Linked DNA regions of Homo sapiens: regions 2 and 3 are each linked to region 1. Evidence: promoter capture Hi-C in human tissues and cell types (Jung and others, 2019). All regions are on one chromosome and are shown on one strand. Each heading gives the region's core, a stretch centred on a gene start or on the middle of the fragment in contact. The rest is flanking DNA. Distances are from core to core; before and after follow the strand shown. Region 1 holds the start of RELT (RELT TNF receptor). Region 2 has its middle 14 kb from the start of CLPB. Region 3 overlaps PAAF1 (proteasomal ATPase associated factor 1).

Region 1 (2,734 bases), core at 72-2,571:
AGAAAACATTTCCAGGAGTGGAGGCATTCTGGATGCTCTGGCCTTCCGTAGGCTGGGATGTGGGACCCTGGAAGAACCCCTGCCCCAGCCCTGGAGGTCTCCATTGACATATGAGGGTGCTGATGTCATGATCCTGACATCAATGACCTGTAGCTCCTTATGCCCTTCCCCCACAACCTGAGCATGACCCAGGGAAATGAAAACTCATCCCCTGCTCCCCTCCCCATGCGGTGTCCAGTTCGCCTCCTGGAATCTCCTGGACCCTGGGGACCTGACCTTTTCCGTCTCCTAGCCCCTGGGTTCAGATTCTATGACTGTTTAGAACCCCACCCCCAGCCATCTATCCCCAGCTGACTTATTTACCTTCCTTTCTCCATCTCTGTCATGGGCTGTGATTATCCTGACCCCAGCCAGGCCTCTGGCCCAGCACTAGGTCCTCCCTGGTGTCTCAGTCTCCCATCAGCCCTACTGTCCCAGGAGGACCGCCTGAGATCCCCTGAATAGTACTGAGAGGGGGAACGGGCCACTGAGCTGCTCCCTCCAGTCCTGGCACACCCTGTAGCACAACTCCAGGGGACACGATTCGGAGTCGGAATACAGTGTGAATACTGCCTGGAGTTTGTGATGACTGGCATTGGAAACTGGCAGGGTGGGATGGCTGTAGTAGGGAGGGGGGCACTGAGTCACCTGTCCTGCTGGAGGGAAACTAACTACCCTGGCACAGAGAAGTGGTGCGGGGAGTAGGGGAGTGGAGGCAGGAGACGCCTCCTGGAGGATTTCACTAGGCCTTGAAGGATGTGCCGAAGCCCACCGTGTGGGCTTCCTTTATAGACTCACCTTCACCAGGCCTTTTCGCCAACTAGGTGAGGGTTTCCAGGGTTGGGCCTGGGCCTCGTCAACAAAGCAAAGTGAGGTTATTCTTCCTGGCCACCAACTGGCAGGAGGAAGATGAAGCCCAGAAAGGGGCAGAGGTGGCTCTAGTTACACTGGCAATGCTGAGAGGACCCAGAGGAGTATCTCAGTCTCCAGTCTCTTTATCTTGCTTCGCACAACTCCTTGCTTGGTTCAGAGCCTTGAAGAGGCGGATACAAGAGGCCCTCTGGGCACCGCCGCCCAGTCCCGCGCAGCCCCCTGCAGTTCCCAGGGGCGCGAGAGAGGGCGACGTAGAGCAGCACCGCCCAGCGGCAGAGCGGCGAGCCCCTCCGCGGCTCGGGGTGAGTCGGGCGCGGGGCGCAGACCGCGCTCTGACGTCGGGGGCGGAGCGGCCGTGACGCGCGGGGGCGGGTCTGCGCACCTTCCCGGCCCAGCCGGCGATTCATTCAAAAGGCGCGCAGGCTGCGCGGCTGTCCGGGCGCTCGCCGAGCCGGGCCGCGGCGCCGAGTCGAACGGGGAGCCGAGCTGGAGCTGCCGCGGCGCAGCCAGGTAAGGAGGGCGCGCGGAGCGCCCATCCAGAGTCTGCTCTCCGCGGCCGGGCCAGCGGGATACGGACCCTAGTGGCGCCCCCTGCCTCCCCGTGTCTCTGAGGAAGTTCGCGGGCTCGGCGGATGCGGCAGCCCGGCCGCGCGCCCCCCCACCCCACTCCTCCCGCCTCGCGTCCTGTCCCGGCGCCTTCCGCGCACCGGCCACCGCCAGTCTCCGAGCCCCGTGACCTGCAGGTCCTCCGGCCGCGACTCCGGGCCGGCCCTGCGTGGTGGCTGTCGGGGGGCGCGCGGGGAAGCAGCGGAACTTGCGGTGTGAGGGGCCGGCGGGGCCCGGAGCGGTCCCCGGCCCGGGAAACTTGGACCGAGACCAGGTTGTGGTGCGGGCTGGACGGCGGCGCCTCGGCGCGGCTGCGGCGCGGGGCGGCCAAGGGGGGGTCTGGATGGTGTCAGCCCGTGACTGTGGGTGACACGGCGCGTGAGGCGGCCTGGCCGGGCGAACGTGTGGCTGGGACACTGGGCGGTGACGCCGGGCCGAGCGGGCGACACAGAGGGGCTCTGTGTGTGGGAGACAGGCAGCGTGTGTGCGTGTGTTGTGTGAGGGAAAGACCCGGGGTCACTGGGGTCACGAAGTGCGTGGCTTGGGGCGTGACCGGCGCAGGGCCAGGGCCACCCGTTACTGTGAGTGTGAAATAGAGGGAGAGGAGCCCAAGTGACTGAGAACGAGCCGAGCTCGCTGGCGCCATGGTGTGCGTGTGGGGTCAAGTGGTGTCAGTGTGTGTGTGTGTGTGTGTGTGTCTGCGCCTAGGGTGATGATGAGTAAGAGGCAGGAGGAGGAGGGACCGGACCTAGGACACCTTCCGGCAGATGTGGGGCGATGAGGAAGTTGGGGAGCCAGGAGACAAGGGTCTCCAGGACTGTCCCCACGAGGGCACCCCTCAGGAGTTCAGCTTGGTGAGGAGATGGACCCTGAGGGATAGGCCCTGGCTGAGGGAGAAAGCCGAGGCTGGGCAACATCTGGTGGGGTGGCCCAGATGGCAGCAGGGTAGGGGCCCTGTGGTAGTCTCAGCTTCCCCCCGCCCACCTGCATCCACACACTCACGCATCGAAGTCCCTACACCTGGCAAAGTTCTGCCCCTGTGTAATCTGTATTCTCAGCGGACCCGGACACAATCTTGTTCTCAGACCCCCCCGCCCCCCTCCCCCGCGCAGGCCTCAGTCTCCCCATCTGCACACTGAGGTGCTGGGCTTTGAATGGACTGTGAATCATCACTTTGGGATCCTCTATTGTTTTGGGTCAACTGCCTGTGTTCTCC
Region 2 (2,734 bases), core at 63-2,562, 930 kb before region 1:
AATAGCATTAAAATCAGCATATTCACCATTCCATTCCATTCCACTCCACTCCATTCTTCTCAACAAATTATTTGGCATTCAATGCCTATGCTGGGCTTTTGTCCAACTCTCTAAAGCTTACAAAGTTTCAATAATATTCAGCCTCATTTATTGAGCACCTGTAAGGCATGGGTTACTGAAACTGTAGTCATGAAGAAGCCATGGAGCTCTGGAGGGGCATGCAGACAATAGGCCATGTCAGCAGAGAGTGGTGAGTGCCACGATTGAGATAATTCTGGTGTCCCTGGGAGCACATAGCAAGCCGAGTGGTCAGAGAAGGCTTCCTGAAGGAAGTGACATCTAAGCTGAGCTCTGCAGGAGGAGCTAGAATTGACCAGACGAAAGGGATTACAGTAGCTGATGTAGGGTGGGGCACTTGGAGAATAGGGTCACTGTAGGTAAAGGGAACCCTACGGGCAAATGAGCAGAGGCAAGAGTGCAATTCTTTTTTTTTTTTTTTTTTTTTTTGGCAATGCATGTTTGAGGAACTGAGTGTTCAGTGTGGATTAAGTGTAGAGTGGGAGGGGCTAAGAGGGGATAATGAGGCTGAACCAGAGGGGTTAAGTAACTTACTAGGTTCTCCCAGCAAGTACTTAGTGCACCAAGAATTTGAACCCAGGGCTAAATGACTTAACCATTTTCTCTTATACTCATCATGAAGACTTTGCTCCACGAGCCTTTACTAGACCCCATGCCTACTGCCACTCTGCTTCTTCCAACTGGGCACAAAGCTTAGCCAACTGCTTTCCCTCTCTTGCTCCTTATTTCCCTCTCCTTCCTTCCTTCCACATTGCTTGTTTTCTGCAGCCTTGGTGCTAGGGAGAAGACAGAGAAGGCACTTTGGGTCAGGAGGTGATAATTCAGATCTCAGAGGAACTGTCCACTCTGCTCATGTTGATAGATAAAGCTGATAGATGAAAATGATTCCTGCATCAGAGCCTCTCTCCGTCTCTCCAGCTTAGTAGAGCAGGGTGGGGCCTGGGGTGGGGATGGTGGATGAGCCCTGGCATTGAAAGCTGCGTCTCTCGGTAGTAGCCCTCTGTCTGTTCATGGGCAAATAAATGTGTGTACGTGTTTACTGAGTGCTTACTATGAGCAAGACTCTGCTTTTGCTGCTTATGCTACATTAATTCCAACAACAATCCTATGAGGAAGAGATTCTCTCCACTTTACAGATTCAAAAAACCCAAAATGGAGCAGCCTTGCTAGTGAAGTATGCAGCATGTCAGTCTCAAAAAAAAAAAAAAAATATATGTATATATATATATATATAAAGGTTAAGTAATTTGGCCAGGGTCACCTAGCTTGTAAATGGCAAAAATGGGGCTCAAATGGTCTGAATCCAAAGCCCAGACTGTTTACCACTACAAAATCCCAGCTCCTAGGAAAAAACAAAGATCCACATGTGATAGATATCCTTGAAGTTTGCCTAAGGTATGGAGGAAGAGAAGAATTGAAAGTATAGTCAACACAGTGCTGAGCCAATATGATACATTCTGAGCTGTGATGTGTGCGAGGGTGCACTCTCACATAACTGAACCAAAGGCACAAACAAATGAAAGGGAGGAAGGAAAACTCCAGGCAGGAAGGAATTCCCAGATGCTCAGCTGCACAGATGGCTCTTCCTTGAGAGCTAATGGGATGACCACCATCACTCCTTTTCCAAGCTTGAAGGCTCCCAGTCTTTCTAACTGGACAGGCATAAGACAAACTCTTTTTTCTTCTTCATTCATCTGAGATATTGGACAGCCTTCAAATATAACCTTACTAGAATGCTGACAAAATAACAAAACCTTAAAAAGCAAAGGGACAAGTGTAATTCTAGAGCACATATTTTTGATAGAACGGCGAGTGAGTGAACTCTGGCCATAGATGTGCTGGCTGGGCCCTCTGGTGGGCAATGAAACTTCTACTCTTTCCTTTCCCTCCACCCCATATCTGTTTTGCTTGGATGATGGAGCAAGCTACTTTGTCTCCTGTCACAGGATGGGTTCTCTGGAAGCAGAAGCTGAGATAGAGCTGTGGGTGCAAGATGGTTATTAGGGATCAATATCTGTGAGGAGAAGCGGGAGGGAGCAGGATTGGGCAGAGGAAGAAACTGAACTGTGATGCAGACCTGGCCAAGGCTTGGTCAACTGTATTAGTCCATTCTCACGCTGCTATGAAGAAATACCCAAGACCGGGTAATTTTTTTTTTTTTTTTTTTTGAGACGGAGTCTCGCTCTGTTGCCCAGGCTAGAGTGCAGTGGCACGATCTCGGCTCACTGCAACCTCTGCCTCCCGGGTTCACGCCATTCTCCTGCCTCAGCCTCCGGAGTAGCTGGGACTACAGGCGCCTGCCACCATGCCCAGCTAATTTTTTTTTTTTTTTTTTTTTTAGTAGAGACGGGGTTTCACTGTCAAGATGGTCTCGATCTCCTGACCTCATGATCTGCCCGCCTCAGCCTCCCAAAGTGCTGGGATTACAGGCGTGAGCCATCGCGCCCAGCCAAGACTGGGTAATTTATAAAGGAAAGAGGTTTAATTGACTCACAGTTCCTCATTGCTGGGAAGCCCTCAGGAAACCTAATCATGGCAGGAGGGGAAGCAATCACGTCCTTCTTCACGTGACGGCAGGAGAGAGAAGAATGAGAACCGAGCAAAGGGGGAGCCCCTCATAAAAGCATCAGATATCATGAGAACTTACTATCACGAG
Region 3 (2,734 bases), core at 133-2,632, 560 kb after region 1:
CACGCCTGTAATCCCAGCACTTTGGGAGGCTGGGGTGGGTGGATCGCTGGAGCCCAGGAATTGGAGACCAGCCTGCACAACATGAGGAAACTCTGTCTCTACTAAAAATACAAAACTTAGCCAGGTGTGGTGGTGGGCACCTGTAATACCAGCTACTAAGGAGACTGAGGCAGGAGAATTGCTTGAACCCAGGAGGTGGAGGGTGTAGTGAGCTGAGATTGCACCACTGCACTCCAGCTTGGGCAACAGAGCGAGACTCTCTCTCAAAAAAGAAAAAAAAAATATGTATATATATATGTATATATATATATTTATATATGTAGAAGCAGTGAGTAGAATGGTGGTTACAGAGACTCGGGGAGGAGGAATGGGGAAATGATGGTCATAGGGTGCAAAGTCTCAGGAGGAATATATTGTGTTTTGAGATCTATTGCATAGCATGGTAGATTGCTAAGAGTAAATTTCAAATGTTCTCAACCCAAAAAATGTTAAGCATTTGAGGTGATGGATATGTTAACTGGCTTCATTTAATTATTCCATATTGTATTTATAAGTCACAATAGGACTTTGTGGCCCATAATTATAAACAAGTATAAATTGTCCATTTACAATTAAAAATCAATTAAAAGAAAAGAGGATAAGGAGGGATATGGCTGAGTACACACAACACGTGAATGTCTGTGAGTTCTCATTCCAGGGCTCACTCTTCTACATTGCCACCACATTCGTCCGCTCCTTTTCATACGTCTCCAGAGTCGATGTCCTGGTTGTGATATATGCAGTGACCCTTGACAGCTGCTCTGAAATCCAGACCCAAACAGAAGGAAAGGAGACCAGCTCTCAGGTGCTCCATAGCCTTGTCCACTGTGAAAGGAAGGAGCCCCTGCTTTTAGCAGACAAAGCTTTTTCTTTTTTTTCTTTAGGATTAAGGAGTGCATTCTGGGTAAGGAACGGTAGGACACCGACAGCTCTACAGACTCAGTGAACTTCTGTGCTAGATGGTGTTTCTTGGCTTTGGGATGCCCCCTTGTGACTTCTTATGAGAAATAACCTTTCTCTCCAGACCTGAAAAGCTGGCAGCAGCAGCAGCAGCTATTCAGCATGTACTTGGTACCAGGCACAGGCCTCACAATAGGTAGATTTCTTTTCTAAACAATACTCTTTGTGCATATACTTTATGTTCTTTTTCTATTTTAACTTTTATTTTGCCAATAACCTTAAACTTGCAGAAAAATTGCAAAAATAGTACAAAGGATAGGAAACAAACATGAGAAATATTTAAAAATAATAAAAAGAATAAAAAAGAATAGCATCAAGGATTTCAGTACACCCTCACCCGAATCTCCCAGTTGTTGAATTTTTTTTTTTTTTGAGACAGAGTCTCACTCTGTCGCCCAGGCTGGAGTGAAGTGGTGCGATCTTGGCTCACTGCAACCTCTGCCTCCCGGGTTCAAGCAATTCTCCTGCCCAGTCTCCTGAGTAGCTGGGATTACAAGGGTGCACCACCACACCTGGCTGATTTTTGTATTTTTAATAGAGACAGGGTTTCACCGTGTTGGCCAGGTTGGTCTCAAACTCCTGACGTCAAATGATCCGCCCGCCTCAGACTCCCAAAGTGCTGGGATGACAGGCGTGAGCCACCGTGCCCAGCCCAGTTGTCAACTTTTTATTATGTTTGCTTTATCACTCTCTTTCTGTATATATGTACACAGGTTATATATGCTATATTTTTTCTGACTCATTTGAGAGTAATATGTAAATGTTACATTCTATTACTTTATTACCATTTGTGATGGTAAATTTTATGTGTCAGCTTGACTGGCCATGGTGCCCAGATGGTTGGTCAATTTTCTGGATGTTTCTTTCAAGGTATTTTTTTTTTTATGAGATGAACATTTAAAATCAGTGAATTTTGGGGCCAGGCAAGCTACTCAAGTCCAGCTACTCAAGAGGCTGAAGTAGGAGGATCGATTGGGCCCAGAAGGTTGAGGCTTCAGTGAGCCATGATCATACCACTGAGCTCCAGCCTAGGCAACAGAGCAATACCATGTCTCAAAAAATAAATGAATAAACTAAAATCAGGGGATTTTGAGTAAAGCAGATTACCCTCCATAGTGTGATAGTGTGAGTCGGCCACATCCAATCAGTTGAAGACCTTAATAGAACAAAGACTGTTGTCCCCCAAGCAAGAAGTTCTGTCAACAGACTGCCTTTGGACTCAGACTGCAGTTCTTCCCTGAGTCTCCAGACCATCAGCCTACTCTATCAGTTTCTGGATTTGCCAAGCTTCCTGTGAGCCAATTCCTTAAATGTCTCTCTCTCTTTCTATGTATATATACACATACACACACGTATCTATATGAAAACAGAACGTACACATCTTATTTGTCCGCCTTCTCTGGAGAGACCTGACATATGTCATTGTATGGATATACCGCATTTTGTTTATCCATTCGTCAGTTGATGAATGGGCTGACATTTGGGCTGTTTCCACTTTTTAGCTACTATGAAATACACTGCTAGCAGCATTCATGTGCAAGTTCTTGCGTTAACATATGCCTTCAGTTCTATTTGGTATATACCTAACAGTGGAATTGCTGGGTCATATGGTACCTATATTTAACTTTTTGAGGGGCTGCCAACTGTTTTCTAAAGTGGCTGTAACCATTTTACATCCTCTCTAGCAGTGTACGAGGGTTCTCATTTTTCCATGTCCTTGTTTTTTATTTATTTT

What was found. The method cuts DNA at HindIII sites, captures the fragments that hold promoters and counts their contacts. A contact is called where the count stands out against the background at its distance.
Region 2: a fragment that was not itself captured here is called in contact with the fragment with the promoter of RELT in region 1 in 1 of the 25 tissues and cell types used here (spleen).
Region 3: a contact is called between a fragment that was not itself captured here and the fragment with the promoter of RELT in region 1, in 1 of the 25 tissues and cell types used here (thymus).

The regions. Positions count from the first base shown.
Region 1 is chr11:73,375,078-73,377,811 of GRCh38, forward strand. It overlaps RELT (RELT TNF receptor), which reads left to right and starts at 1,322. Exons shown (of 11, transcript NM_152222.2): 1 at 1,322-1,422. RefSeq lists silencers at 1,042-1,351, 1,382-1,671, 1,762-1,841 and an enhancer at 2,007-2,301. The HindIII fragment of the contact is 25,019 bases long and covers 1-2,734 here.
Region 2 is chr11:72,447,169-72,449,902 of GRCh38, forward strand. No RefSeq gene overlaps it. Among named protein-coding and RNA genes, the nearest start is that of CLPB, 14 kb to the left of the region's middle. The HindIII fragment of the contact is 4,196 bases long and covers 1-2,734 here.
Region 3 is chr11:73,930,482-73,933,215 of GRCh38, forward strand. PAAF1 (proteasomal ATPase associated factor 1) reads left to right here. Exons shown (of 12, transcript NM_025155.3): 12 at 1-633. Among named protein-coding and RNA genes, the nearest start is that of DNAJB13, 19 kb to the right of the region's middle. RefSeq lists a silencer at 2,141-2,391. The HindIII fragment of the contact is 4,129 bases long and covers 1-2,734 here.